3 separate regions of the Homo sapiens genome follow, and regions 2 and 3 are each linked to region 1. The links are contacts of gene promoters, found by promoter capture Hi-C in blood cells and fetal thymus (Javierre and others, 2016). All regions are on one chromosome and are shown on one strand. Each heading gives the region's core, a stretch centred on a gene start or on the middle of the fragment in contact. The rest is flanking DNA. Distances are from core to core; before and after follow the strand shown.

Region 1 (5,041 bases), core at 1,616-4,115:
ATGGTGGAAGGCAAAGAGGGAGGCAGCATGTCACATGGCATGAGAGGGGGCAAAAGAGAAAGGAGAAGGTGCCAGGTTCTTTAAAACAACCAGATCTCACATGAAGTAATAGCTGAGAGCTCGCTCATTACCACGGGGAGGACACGAAGCCATTCATGGGGGATCAACCCCTCTGACCCAAACACCTCCCTCCAGGCCCCACCTCCACACTGGGGATCACATTTCAACATGAGATTTGGAGGGGACAAATATCCAAACTATATCAGATGTATAGTGGAGCACATACAGATAAGACTGCATCCACCCTGGGCAGCCTCCCTAAGCCTTGGGGGACCAGCACATCATGGATCCTAGACTTCTGTTGGCCCTTGCTCCCTGCCTGGGAGTACTAAACTTGCTTTGCCTGACATGTTGCACAAGTGCTCTGTCTCACCAAACTCATACACTGGCAGCTGGGTTTGGGCAAAACCTCCTGCCAGATCTAGAAACCTGCCAGATCTAGGAACCTTAGTAGAAGCTGGCAAGGTGTTTAGAGTTCTCCTCTGGGATTCTTAATAGTCGCACAGAATTCCCCACCAGGGATTAATACCCATGCACAGTATTCTGCTTAACAGAGGTGCTGGTGATGCTGATGTGCACCCACTCTCCACGCTGCATCACACCTTCGGGATGTCCAGAATATTCATGCCTACCAGAACATATGGATCTTCTTTGGGACAATATTAAACTCTAAAAATTCCACTTTTTTTAGAGACAGGATCTCACCCTGTCACCCAGGCTGGAATGCAGTGGCACAATCATAGCTCACTACAGCCTCCAACTCCTGAACTCAAGTCATCCTGCCTCCTCAGCCCGCTGAGTAGCTGGTAATACAGGTGCACGCAACCATGATCAGCTAATTTTTTATTTCTTGTAGAGATAAGAGTCTCACTATATGGCCCAGACTGGTCTCAAACTCCTTGCCTCAAGTGATCCTCCCATCTCTGCTTCCCAAAGTGCTGGGATTCCAGGCGTGAACCACTGTGCCCAACTCCCTATAAATTCTTAACTCACAGCCATCTTCATCCTAAATTTGATGAGTTTAGATCTCCCTCCTTGTGTCTTAATCATTCCATCAGATTTTTGAACATATTTTTGCTCTTTTCTAAACGTGTAGACAATGTTACGTCATGCACTGACAAATAAGGGTCATCAGCGGACATATGTGATGGCAGGGATCCCACGACTTCCCTGAGAAGATGAGTCTCCTGCCCTTTCCTTTGCACTACCTTCCAGATTTCATTTCCACTGTACTTAGAAATGATGTCCTCAGCCCTCCACTCATGGCCTCCGGTGGATTCTGGCAGTCAGGACTGCCCCAGGATCCCCACAAATCTGACAAGGATTTGTGTGACGCCTTTGCTAGGTCTCATTGGTTGGTAGTGAGTATGTGGTGTGTTATCTTCCCTTCTTTTAACTACCTTGTCTTTGGGGGTAAATGCAAAGCAATTCTGTACACCTTGCCTCTCTCCATCTAAGCCAAGCTGAGGGTCAGAGTCCTGGCATGACTATCCTGCCCTGTGGTCAGGCACACCTTCTGGCTCTGCTACAAGGCAAACCTGGTCTTCTCGTTTCTGCTAGTCTGCAAAAAAATTAACACTCAACTAACATGACCTTTACACCACACTTATCAACTTTGGCAAAGGGAAGCCTGAACTTTGGAAACTGTTTAGTAGGGTTGGCTGCCCAAGAAGTCAAAGACCAGCCTAGCCAATAGTATCAAAATTGACTGTGTTCTTTACAGCCATAACTAACACTTGTTGTTGTTGTTGTTGTTTGTTGTTGTTGTTGTTGTTTTTGAGATGGAGCCTTGCTCTGTCACCCAGGCTGGACTGTAGCGGCCCGATCTCAGCTCACGGCAACCTCTGCCTCCCAGGTCCAAGCTATTCTCCTGCCTCAGCCTCCTGAGTAGCTGGGACTACAAGCACATGCCAGCAGACCCAGCTAATTTTTTTGTATTTTTTTTTTTTTGGTAGAGATGGGGTTTTGCCACATTGGTCAACCTAGTCTCAAACTCCTGACCTCAAGTGACCCACCCACCTTGGCCTCCCAAAGTCCTGGGATTACAGATGTAAGCCACCGTGTCCAGCCTAGATTTTTATTAACGTATTTTAAGTCACTGTACTCAAATAAGCAATAAGATTTGGAATCTGATCTGCAGTGCTTATTTGGGGGCATCAAGAAGAATTTCCAGCTCAGTGAACTATACCCAAACAGGCAGTTTAATGTAGTATAGAACAGCCAGTATAGAGCTTTCAAACTGGCTCCACACTAAGAAATACATGTTAAATGATAACGGAATGCATGCGCACACACACACACACACACACACACACACTCTCTCTCTCTCTCTCTCTCTCTCTCTCCTACATCACTACAACAGAAGCTTCTTAAAGCAGTGCTGCCCTAGAGGAAGATGAACATGAAAGTGATTTATTAGGAACTATTCCCAGAGAAAAGACATATGGGAGAAAGTAGGAGTAGAAAGGGGCCAAGTAAGGGTACAACATCAAGCCAAGTCCCATGGAAGGCAATTTTGATACATTCCCTCAGAGGGCTTGGGGAACATCATAGGTCACACCTCAGTCATCCAGTGAGAGGGCAAAAGAGCTAGAGTATGTCTATCCCCACCCCCATCAGTCATTGGTTAAAGGCATGAGGGGAGGGAAGGGACATAAATTCCCAGGCACTTCTGGCTCTCTTGTACCTTCCAACAGTATGCTGGCTTTTGGGAAAGAATGCACACTGGGATTCAACTGGTCTACACAGAGATAGCAGAGGGATCCCAGGTGACGTAGGTGGAGCAGGAACAGCTTCTGCTACAAACACCCTAACCATAGGTGATGAATTGTGGTATTTTCTATTCTGATTTTTTAAATTGCTGGTCATCCATTTTAATCTCAATCCAGCCACTTTTAGGTGTTATTTAAACTGCCTGAGGCATTTTCCTCATTTCTAAAATGGGAATATCAACTTTGCTCATTGTGGTGAAAATTAAAAATGACATAGATACCCCTATGTCTATGGGATAACAGTAGGTATTCAACGTGTAGCCATTATGATTAATAAATGTGTCCTCAAAATGCCTCAAAAGAGTAACATGAAAATTTCTTTATCCTCTTAACTGTGCTCAAGACACGCATGCATAAAAACACCAGTGGTGGAGCATGAGTTCCTTCGCAGAGACACGATGCAAATGTGCACAAATATTTACCACCTCCATGACTTTGTTCTTTATTCCCTTTGCCCAACGTAGTGCTCGTCATTCAAGCTTCACCTTAAATGTCCCTCTTTCATGAAGCTTTTTCAGACCCCAACTAAAAATACTCTCTCCCACCTCTGAACTGCCATACTCTTCTATTTGAAGTTATTTTATGGCAATTTTAGCACTTTCTTTTTCCTCTTTGCAATATCTATTAAAATCCTGACTTGGGAACAGACAGACAAATCAATAAAATGAACTAGAGTCCAGAAATAGGCTCAAATACATATGGTAATGATAAAGAAACCAAGGCATGGAAGAGTTACTCAGACAGTGCTGAGACAACTGGTTAACCATTTGGGAAAAAAACTAACCCGGATTTCTATCTCACTTCCCACACAAGCACAAATATCAGATGGCCAAAAGATTTAAACATACATACACACACATTGAATAACTACAGGAAATCTTATAATTGAATATCTTATACTTTTGGAGTAAGAAAGGCCTTTCTAATCATGACACAAAACTCAGAAGCCATAAACAAAAAACTAAATAAATTTATTCCATAAAGATTTTAAACTTCTACAATTCATTAAAAAGACATAAATTCAAAAGTCAAAATGGTAAAAATATTCACAACATATGACAATCAAATGGTTAATTTCCTTTTATAAAGAGTTTATAGGAATAAATGAGAAAGAAGTAAACCCAAATAAAAGTAGACAAAGGTCATGAGCAGTTCATTTAAAAAGAAATACAAATATCTATAAACATACGAAAAGATAATCACCTTAATATCATTAATAATTAATATTTTCTCCCACATCAGCAAAAATCTGCATGTTTGTTAAAGCTGAGTGTTTTAAGGGTGTGATGAAATGGACACCATTACACAGGACTGCCTTTCAGGAAGGTTCTCTGCCACTGGAAAAGGGTACAGCTTTTCTAGAGGGCAATAGGTGATTTCTATTAAAATATCAAAGACACACTCCTTGCCCTTGTACTTCAACTATTTATCTGGGCTTAGTACAAGTTCTCCTAGCTACATGTACAAGGATGCTACTGCAACATCATGCCTTAGAGAAAAAGGCATAGTATATTTGGTATTGTACCAATGTCAATTTCCCAGAATTGATATTATACTACAGTTGTCACCACTGGGGGAAGAGTACTCAGGGACTCTATGTACTACTTTTGCAACTTCCTATGAGACTATAATTACTTCAAAATAAAAAGTGTTTCTTTAAAAAAATCATGGTGCATAAGTATTTATGGTTTCTTACAAAGTATGAAAAGGTAAGGGCAATCCTTGTTTAATTAAATTCAAAATGAGTGAGCAGAACATATGTAACCAGAAGGACAAATCCACCCTTCCCTTTTGTCAAGCACATCTGTGTGAAGAGACCACCAACAGGCTTTGTGTGAGCAACAAGGCTGTTTATTCACTTGAGTGCAAGTGGGCTGAGTCTGAAAACAGAGTCAGTGAAGGGAGATGGGGAAGGGGTTGCTTTATAGGAGTTGGGTAGGTAATGGAAAATTACAGTAAAAAGTGGTTATCTATTGTTAGCAGAGGAGGGGGTCACAAGGTACATGGTGGGGAGATGATAAGACCCATTGTCCAGAAGAAGACTGTCACAAGGTCGATTGATCAGTTAAGGTAGGACAGGGACAGGTCACAATGGTGGAATGTTGTAATGTTGGTTAATCAGTTAAGGCAGGAACTGGCTGTTTTACTTCTTGTGTGGTTTTTCAGCTGCCCCAGACTTCTTGGCTCCTGCAGGCCATCTGGACATATAT
Region 2 (5,041 bases), core at 563-3,062, 500 kb before region 1:
TCAAGAGGAGTTACCAGTGAGTCCCTTCCTCTTTGAGGTTACCCCTTAACCAGAGGAGCAGCCTAGCAAACCTGCCAGGGTAAAAGGAACAACTAACTATTGTTCAAGCTGGGGCTCTCCTAGGGGAAGGAAGAGCATTCTGAGCTCCCTGTAGGAGCAGAAATCTAACTATTTCCATCTCTGACCCTCATCTATCCCTGGACCCCCTGGTCACAGGTAAGTAGCTCTTGATAGCCAAGATATTCTCTCCAGCACATGGCAGAAACTAGAGTTCCATAGGCTGGCTTTGGGGCTCTAATGCCCAGTCTTACTAGATTTTCAACACTCTAGCTTCAGCTTTTCTTACCTGGGCTACTCAAGTGTGTCTACAGATGAGGAAAGGGGCCAAGGCCTGCAGGGGACCTGGAGAGAGGGAAGAGGCTGTGTCAGGGCAGGCTGTGCCCAACCTGACCAGTCCCACCTTCCTGCTTCTCCCTGGCTCTGTTCTTCAGCATCCACCCTCTTCCAAAACAAGGTGGAAAGGGTGGTCAGCTTCTCTGGTCCCATCCTTCTTGTTTTTCAAACCCTATTCCCTTTTTCCTCAAGAACTAGTTCTAACAGCTTCCTGGTGTCAACTCAACCTGAACCCTAATCCTCTTCACTCCTGCGAGATGGTCCCACCCCTGCCTGTACCCATCTAGTGGTACCTTTCTTTGAGCCATCTGAGAGACAACTAATGGTCACATTTGTTCGGCACTTTCCAGTCTAAAAGCACTTCAATGCACTTTCTCCTACTCAGTCTTCACCCCATTTGACAGATGAGGAAATCGAGGTTAAATGGCTTGCTTGGCCAAGAGCCCATGACAACAAGTGGGAGAGCCAAGACTTGAATGCAAGTCTGATGACTCTAAAGAGACTTCTTTTCCATCCTGTCCCCATTTTGTTGTCAGACTTTGTGGACATTCTCAGAGAGAAGACACTGTGGGCTTCCTCTCACAGACACACCCATCACATAGCCAAACACCCTCCACAAGCCCTCTGATGAACACTCATGCCTGCTGCTTGGGCATGCCTCTCACATGAAGACAGGCTTCCTTCCCATACCTCAATCCGCACCCCAACCCCAGGGTGCCATATATGCCTCAACAGCAAATGTGCACATTTCAGGATGTGTGCCACGTAAGTAGATCACATCACTGCGTGTTCTTCAGTACACAAAGACCTGGAACATCCTACACCCCCGTGCCTGTGAGTTCCTTCTGCAGAGGGTACAGATACTATAACAGTCATGACTCGTGGAGGCATAGACAAGAACCTCTGCATGCATGGACAGGGGTAGCTACACATTCCAGGCCTCACAGAATCACATGAAGGCATACACACTTCCTAGAATCCTTCTCCACCATTCTTTCTCCCTCCCTGCAAAGGAACCTCCTCGTTCACAGACGTGATCATACACCCACATCTCCCACTTGATATTTCTGTATCAGTCAGTGAGGTACATACCCTTTCTCACATTCAGACTATGCAGGCTTGTCCACACACACACACACACACACACACACACACACACCCTGTAATGCATATTGGTCCCATATGCTCAGATGCAGATATCTTCCCCTAGGAACTCCTGTGGCACATACGCCCATGTTTAGACCTGCACATGTGTGCCCAGTGACTGGACCTGGTACTCTGCATGAAGTCCTGCATGAAGCTTGCTATTCCAAGAGGAATCCCTTCCTAAGCCTGGAGCCCCCTTATCCCAGAGTAAAGCCTCCAGCTCCCGCTCCTACCTGAGAGCAGCAGGGAAAGACACAGAGCAGGACAGAGCTGTGGAGCCAGACCTGGTCTCAGGGGCTGTATATATGGGGCAGCAGGGCACCCCCACCCCCAACGGCACCCAGTCCCTAGCCGGATTTAGAAAGGGCTGTTGTCACTAGAAGCATTTCCCCCAGGCTCCCCCCCTTCCCAAACAGTGCTCCCCTCCCCGCCTCTCCAGCTAGGAAACAATTGGAAGTGGTCGTCATTGTTATGGCATGGACTGTGCAGGGTCTGAGTTCCAGGGGGCGGGGTGGCTCAAAGTGCAGCAAAAATATCTCCCAGGCCAGGCCTCACATTCCACAGCTGGCAGGAGAGGGAACTGACCACGACCACCAAGACCACAGGCAGCCAATGTCCTGGCTCTCCCGCAGGGCACTTCTGGCCCTGGACACTGCTCCCCCTCCAGTCCCCTGCTGCGAGGCCCCTGATGGCCTGGCCGCATTTCCACAGTGTCCTCCCTGCTCTCCTGGCCCAGGTCCTGTATCCAACTGGAAGCTGGGAAGGGGCTGAGTGTCAGCAGCAGAGAAGGGTAGGACAGAGTTGGGGGCATGGCCCCAGGGTGAGGCAGCTAGACTGGGGCAGCTGGAAGGACATTTCCTAGCCAGGTGGCAAGAACAATAACCATGGAGCTTAGAGATGGGGACTCTGGCTCAGGCACTGATTTCCTTGGACCAGCAGGCAATGTGTTGAGGTCACCAAGCCTCCGAGCCAGACAGGCCTTTAGCAATCCATCCAAGCACTTCATTTAATGGAGAGGGACAGTGCATTCTTTAAGGTTATACAGCTAATCGGGGCAGCAGGATTCAAGGTGGGAAACCTCAGCAGATGGGAGTGGAGCCCGGCCTGTGGAGGGTAGCCTGGAAAGGTGGGCTGGGATTCCAAAGATGTGGGGACCCCCTATGCGCAGAGAGCAGGACCCAGCTGCATTGGTCCTAGTTTGGAGCGGTTTGCCTGACTCACGTTCCTGGCTCTGCCCCACAGGTACTAAAGGCCTGAGCCCAGAGACAGACCCTCTCAGAGCTATAGATAATACAACTACTTGGAGCTGGAAGGAGACCCCTAAGACAGCTGTTGTCTGGCCCACCCAGCCTCAGCTTTATCCAGAGCTGGAGGCGACTAGTGTTCTGGCAAGTGAGGCAGAGTAACAGGACAGGAAAAATCTTCCCCTCTGCAGGCCTGAGGAACAGCCACAAAGGAGGGGAGGAAAGGGAGCTGGGGCCCAGCCTACGAGCACAGAACACAACCGATGCCATGCTCTTCTAGCAACGGGGCATGCAAGCTTGACTGGCTCCGTGTCTAGGCAACCACTGCACGATTTGGTGTGAAATCTCCCCCTTCTTCCCAAGCACAGCTCTTCCGCGCATGCGGATTAGTCCATCTGATTAGCTGTCAGCTTGGAAGGAGTGAGGCAGGCCTGGGGGATGGGTGCAGCAGGTACATTTTGAAGGTGGGGTGGGCATAGCAGGGAAGGGAAAATCCAGGAGGAGGCCTCTGTGGGGGTTGCTTGGTAACCAAGGCACTAAGGTACAGTCTGAGGACATTGAGCAGCTATAAGGGGGGTGCAGGCAAGTGGGGGTAGACCACGAACTGCAAGGGCTGTGTCTGACAACACCGCAGCTCTGCAGTGCTAAGGTATACAGTTGCTGAGGTTATCCCAGTAGTCTGTGCTACTAACATGCCCGGCAGAACAGACTCTGGCAGTCCCCCCCAGGCCCTGCCAGGTGCTGAGGAATCAGCCCCATTGACAGAGACAGACCCTCTCAAAGCTATAGATAATACAGCTGCTTGGAGCTGGAAGGAAACCCCTAAGACAGCTGTTGTCTGAGGTTCCCTGTAGGAACCTCAAGGATTGGCGATGAGGGGCAAAAACTCCTTTCGTCCCCACCTTCCAGCTTTCCAAGCTCCAAACTGCCACCCCTCCCTGATTTCCCAGGGCAATTAAGATGCACAAAGGGTGCTTGGGACGTAGTTGAGCCATTTCAAAGCCAGTGTCTTCACCACAGGCCAGCGTCCTTCCTTGGCTGGGGACTTGGGTAGTCTTTTCTGCATTTGGGAAATCAATCACACTTTGTTTCTCTCCTTTCGGGTTTGGGAGGCTCTGGTCTGTTGGTGTTTGGGTGTTACTGTTCTCCACCCATGCCCCCTCTCATTGCAGATAGAACTCACCTCCCTAACTAGGCTTTGCCTCACAGCTCAGACAGATCAGAGGGCCTGCTGTCCTTAAAGATCCCCACTCACTCCCTAGCTCCTCCAGCACCTGCTCTTGGTTACATCATGATTCTCTTCCTGCTGCTTGCTGCTGTCTGAAGACTGAGCAGCTTTGCAGATTCCTCCATTCAACAAGTATTTATTGAGTGCCTACTATGTGCCAGGCATTATTCTGGTCAATAAGGACATAACAATGACCCAAAGAAAGATCCCTGCTCTGGACTGCTTTAGTCAACTGTTTGTAGAAATGGCATCCAGGCCTACCCTTTGCACACATGCACATTCCTTGTGGGGAGAGTGAGGGGCCAGGGGCCCCACCATGCTGGGGTGGGTGGGGATTGTGCAGAGTGTGCTACAAAGTGATAGCAAGATAAAGGAGAGCAAAGCAAAATGCTATAAATAAAGAGAGGCTGGAAGGAGGGCCGCTTCGGCAAGGTAGACCAAATAAGGCCTGAAGTGAAAGGAAGGTGATCTGTCCCCCGTCCTCCCCTCCCCGCATTGTGCCGGCTTTGTCTGCACTCTGTCACCACCCTGATCAAGTGTCAAGCCAAAACAGGGGCCATTTGCTGTGAACACGCCAGCGGTAGTTCAGAGGAAAAGTTGCTAAAATTACTCCCAGTAATTGTGAGGGAGGGAGACACCAGGGCGAATTAGAAGCGATGTCAGCATGGAGAGAGGGGAATCAGAAAAAAGCTCCGGTACCCAAAGGGAAGGAAGAAACGGGGCAGGAAGAGGCAGGGCACTTGGTGCAGGGGAGGAATGAGGCACTCGTTGTTTGTGCACAGGGCAGAGGGGAGCCACCCAGGAGTGGAGGCTGACTCTCCCATCCGCCTGCCCCCAGAATCCCTGACCTTGGGGGGACCCTGCCCTGGCTCCACACGAGCCTAGGATTAGGGAGCTGAGCTTTCTGCCTGTCTCAGATTTCCCTTTACAAACAGCTGCTCCTTCTTGTCATTCTTTTGTCTTCCTGCTGGCTTCAAAATCTTTTGTACTTGTGCACCCCCTCTCATTCCCTACTCTAGGTCTCTGCTTT
Region 3 (5,041 bases), core at 1,355-3,854, 470 kb before region 1:
TATTTTCCTTTCGCATTCCCTATACCCCAAAGGATTGCTATCTAGAGAGGCTAAGAAAAATCTGAACAGACAGGCCTTGCTGGGATTCCCCCCTCAGTCTAGTTCTGTCAGATCATACTCTTTTTGTCCTATCACATTTCTACACGCTGTCCATTCTTCATCAAACCTAACCATAAAAATGGAATCTTCATTTCTGAAGGCTCCCGTGTCATGTAAAACTTTCAATAAATTCATCAAACTTTTTTCTTGTTAACTTCTTTTGTTATAGGAGTGTCTTCTATGACCCTTATGATGGGTGAGGAAAGGTATCACACTTTTCTGCCCCTATAGTTGACAAGTATTTTATTTTTTTAGAGATGGGGTCTCCCTCTTTCACCTTTTTTTTAGAGATAGGGTCTTGCTCCGTCACCCAGGCTGGAGTGCAGTGGCACGATCATGGCTCACTGCTGCCTTGACATGGGCTCAAGTGATTCTCCTGCCTCAGCCTCCAGAGTAGCTGGGACTACAGGTTCAAGTCACCGTTCCTGGTGGACAATTATTTTAATAATCAAGGCCGGGAGCAGTGGCTCATGCCTGTAATCCCAGCACTTTGGGAGGCCGAGGCAGGTGGATAGTGAGGTCAGGAGTTTGAGACCAGCCTGGCCAACCATGGTTTAGTAGAAACCCCGTCTCTACTAAAAATACAAAAAATGAGCTGGATATGGTGGCGGGTGCCTGTAATCCCAGCTACTCAGGAGGCTGAGGCAGGAGAATCGCTTGAACAGGGAGGCAGAGGTTGCAGTGAGCCAAGATCGCGGCACTGCACTCCAGCTTGGGCAACAGTATGAGACTCCGCTCAAAAAAAAAAAAAAAAAAAAAGGCCGGGCGCGGTGGCTTACGCCTGTAATCCCAGCACTTTGGGAGGCTGAGGCGGGTGGATCATGAGGTCAGGAGATCGAGACCATCCTAGCTAACATGGTGAAACCCTGTCTCTACTAAAAAAAAAAAAAAAAAAAAAAAAATCAGCCGGGCGTGGTGGCAAGTGCCTGTAGTCCCAGCTACTCGGGAGGGCGAGACAGGAGAATCGCTTGAACCCGGGAGGCGGAGGTTGCAGTGAGCCGAGATCGCGCCACTGCACTCCAGCTTGGGCAACAGAGCGAGACTCGGTCTCAAAAAAACCCAAAATATGGCAGTGCAATTTGTTTTCTCATTGCTATCATAAAGCATATGAACAAACTAAATTTCAAATTCCCCGAAAAGGAAAAGTTTATTGCTGATCTAATTAGACAGGTCCGAAAATTTATGTAGAAATAGAAACTTTTCATAATACAAATCTTGATAAAACATTACAAAAGCTACTGGATAATTGACTAAGTATGCTGCAACAGCATCCTGAGCTTCCACAGTGGGCCTGAAGCAGCAAATTAAATGTTAGAGGAGTGGGGACTGAACACCCTCCTGCCTTCTTGAATCCAGCAAGATCTAGATACCAGGATTTCCTTACCTCACCTGCCCAGATACAGGTGTTATTCTTAATTCCAAAAGACAGCTTCAAGTCGGTAAGATCTGATTTCTAGACCCAGCTCTGTTGGACGAGTTGTGAACAAAAAATTATACACTATCATTCACCCTTTCGGTGCTTTATTTCCTAAGGCATGGGATGGGAACAATGAGTATCCGTCCAACCTACTTCACCAGCTTGTGAAAAACCAGAGTGAGAGAACACATCTGAAAGCACTGGGTAATGATGAGGCAGGTTATACTGAAACATGCACTGCCAGAGTTTGAACCAAGTTCTGCTGAAGACCTGTGTGACCGCGGTAAGTCATGTAAATATGAACCGTTCCCCAATTTGTAAAACGTATTCTTTTCATGTCCCCAAACTGGTAGGAGCGAAGAGTGTCGGGGCGTTATTGGAGCCGTTTCTCAGCGCTCCACAGTGCACACCAAGAGGGCAGGTGTCCTCGCACTCGGTTTCTAAACTCTGGCTCTGGGCTTCTCTAGCCTCGCTCTCTTATTTACAGATGAAGAAGGCTCAGAGACCGAGTGACTTGTCCACGGTCACACAAGGAGTAGTGTTACAGAATCGATTCCAGGGCCACCGGGTCTGTAAGGCATTTGGCGCGGTGGCCGTTGGATGAGCAGCCAGCAATGGCGGCTCTGCAATGTCGACACCGCAAAGCCAAGCCAAGGCCCATCACCTAGCGGCCGGTTCACGCACTACAAGAAAAGTGCCGTGAAAAAAGACTCTGGGTGCTGCGGCAGACGGGAGCCAATACGCGCTAAGTTCGCTCTGCTAATTCCTTTTTTCTATTGGTCCTTCCAACTGTCAATCAATTATTTGACTGTCTCTTATTGGCTTGCCGTCAATCATTTTACTCAGTCTACCAATCACACGCTCTTTGCCAAGTGCTTTTTTTCGTCCTGACGACTCTTTCTGAGTCTGACGAATTTAGCCAGTTCCTTTATTCCATTGGCCAGATCAGACTCCTCCTCTCGTTTATCCTGTTGGGGGCGGAAGTGAGAAAGCCCTTATTCGTATTGGCTTAGATTTGCAAGCGGCAGTTGTCTATCAAATCTATCAAGTCGCCCTTAGCGCTCAGGAAGTACGACACCGGAAGGGGTGGGCTTTGCGAAGATGGCGGCGCTGGTGAGTTTGGTGTGGTTTCTTCCTCGCGTAGCTATTGTGGAGTTGTCCTTTGCCTTCAGCGGCTGGAGGCAAACTGTTGGTACCAGGGAAGGGTGGTGATGAAAGTTGCTTCAGGGAGGCGGCCTCCCTAGAGTTACCGTTCCTGTCCGGTAACCCAAGGGGCTGGCTTTAAGGCGAGTCTGTGAACCCGAGTGTGAAGGCCCCGAGTCTGGGTGTCTGACGGAGAGAGGGCAGTTTCCCACCCTAGACGTTCCACTTTCCTATAATCCTGAGGAAAGAATGACTTTTCTTTACGCCTCCTCTCCCTTCTGTAGGGGGTGCTGGAGTCCGACCTGCCAAGTGCCGTGACACTTCTGAAAAATCTCCAGGAGCAAGTGAGTAGTGTCGCCTCTGGAATAAATTAGTCACGGATTGGCTTTGAGTTTGTGTACTTCACCTCAAAACTTTGGTGATTGAGATACGTGAATGCTTCCAAAAACCTTAGAGTAAAATGATGTAATCAAAACCTTTTCACGCCAGAATTCTAAGTAATTGATTCTGCACCCAAGGGAATACAAGAAACTCCAAAAAGAAATTATATGAATAGTTTTCCTTTATTCATATAGCTAAGGAAACCAGTGCTTGGAATGGTAACATGACTTGCCCTTTGGGTGCCCAGGTAATACACACTTATATACAGATGCTTCTCGACTTAACGATGGAGGTTATGGCCTGATAAACCCATTGTAATTCGAAAACCTCATAAGTCGAAATTTAGGCTTGATGCCGCTGCCCAGCATCACGAGAAAAGGACGGTTTCTACCGAATGCATATTTCTTTTACACCCTCGTAAAGTGGAAATTAAGTCATAAGTCGGGGAGTTATGTAGTTCTATGCATTGTAAGTTCAACTAGTACAAACAAAATTACAGTGCTTCAGTCACTACTCTCTCAGTCCTTTTCTCCTCCCTGTGGTTCAGTAAAAGATGGTCTCTTCTTTAAGAAGTGGAAAGTTTTTTTTTTTTTAAACTTTTTGAAGAACCATCTCTCCTATGCTTTCCGAGAAGTGAGAAGATAGTACTATACTTTAGACAGTGTTTCAGATAATTTTTAGGTGGCATTGTTTAGCTTTTGCTCTTCACAGTTTGCAGACATAATTTGATATAATCTAATCACTTGTTTTATTTGGGCTAATTTCAGGTGATGGCTGTAACTGCACAAGTGAAATCACTGACACAAAAAGTTCAAGCTGGTGCCTATCCTACAGAAAAGGTAAGATGTACTCAAACAGTAAGCATCCCCTGACTTAATGTTCTCAGTAGTTCTTTCATTGTATGTTTATTGTGTCTTATATATCCTAAGTGCTCGAGCTTCAAACATAAATATGATCCAGTTTCTGTGCTGAAGTCTAGAGGGAAGACAAAGCAAAGCAATAGATGTAAGTATTAATAGTAGCAGTCACATTACAGAGTTATGAGTCTCCAGCCAAAGAGAGGGATTAATTAACTGCCAGAAGAGCAGAGGGATTCAGGACAGGCTTCCCAGAGGAGGTGATAGGATTTTGAGGAATAAATGGGAGGGACAGAAAGAAGGAACATGTGCAAAGGCACAAAGGCCTGAAAGTATGGTGATAAGGGAAAGGAGTAAGTCATTTTTGTGATAGGATGTACTTTCTGTGTTATGTGTGTTGGGGGTAGGAAATAAGACTGGAAAAGTCACTCTGAAGATTACTGTAGGCCAACTGAGGAGTTACTTTCAGATTTCATCTAATCTAAGACACTTATTAATTGGGACATATCACTTATTGTATATATTAAGAAAAAATGTGACAGGCCGGGCATGGTGGCTCATGCCTGTAATTCCAGCACTTCAGGAGGCTGAGGCTGGAGGATCGCTTGAGCTCAGGAGTTCGGGACCAACCTGGGTAACATAGTGAGACCCTACAAAAGTTAAAAATTAGCCGGGCATGATGGCATGTGCCTGTAGTCCTAGCCACTCAGGAGGCTGAGGCCAGAGGATTGCTTAAGCCTGGGAGGTTGAGGCTGCAGTAAGCTGTGATTGTGCCACTGCATTCAGCCTGGGTGACAGAGCAAGACCCTGTCTCAAAAAAAAAAAAAAAATTGCTTATGACATAATACCAAGATGCCAGTGACTGAAACATGCATCCTGATTTCAGAGATGTTAAAATATGAAAACCATGTGCATCTTAAAATTGAAATATGCGCCTGTAATCCCAACACTTTGGGAGGCCAGAGTGGGAGGATTGCTTGAGCCCATGGGTTTGAGACCAGCCTGGGCAATGTGGTGAGACCTATCTCTATAAAAAAAAATTAGCTGGGCGCAGTGGTGTGTGCCTGTAGTCCCAGCTACTCAGGAGGCTGAGGTGAATGGATCGGTTGAGCCCAGGAGGTCGAGGCTGCCATGAGCCACGGTC

What was found. The method cuts DNA at HindIII sites, captures the fragments that hold promoters and counts their contacts. A CHiCAGO score of 5 or more calls a contact.
Region 2: the fragment with the promoter of MYH7 here is called in contact with a fragment that was not itself captured in region 1 in 1 of 17 cell types (M0 macrophages); the score reaches 5.0 in M0 macrophages.
Region 3: the fragment with the promoter of NGDN here is called in contact with a fragment that was not itself captured in region 1 in 1 of 17 cell types (total CD8 T cells); the score reaches 7.1 in total CD8 T cells.

What each region holds. Positions count from the first base shown.
Region 1 is chr14:23,934,953-23,939,993 of GRCh38, forward strand. It overlaps DHRS4-AS1 (DHRS4 antisense RNA 1), which reads right to left. Exons shown (of 2, transcript NR_023922.2): 2 at 3,779-5,041. Among named protein-coding and RNA genes, the nearest start is that of DHRS4, 16 kb to the right of the region's middle. The HindIII fragment of the contact is 885 bases long and covers 2,424-3,308 here.
Region 2 is chr14:23,433,848-23,438,888 of GRCh38, forward strand. It overlaps MYH7 (myosin heavy chain 7), which reads right to left and starts at 1,813. Exons shown (of 40, transcript NM_000257.4): 1 at 1,773-1,813; 2 at 347-402. RefSeq lists enhancers at 1,673-2,510, 3,531-5,041, 4,288-4,788. The HindIII fragment of the contact is 1,386 bases long and covers 1,692-3,077 here.
Region 3 is chr14:23,467,099-23,472,139 of GRCh38, forward strand. It overlaps NGDN (neuroguidin), which reads left to right and starts at 2,605. Exons shown (of 11, transcript NM_001042635.2): 1 at 2,605-2,629; 2 at 2,944-3,003; 3 at 3,808-3,879. The coding sequence starts at 2,618. RefSeq lists a silencer at 2,232-2,281 and an enhancer at 2,368-3,308. The HindIII fragment of the contact is 20,849 bases long and covers 1-5,041 here.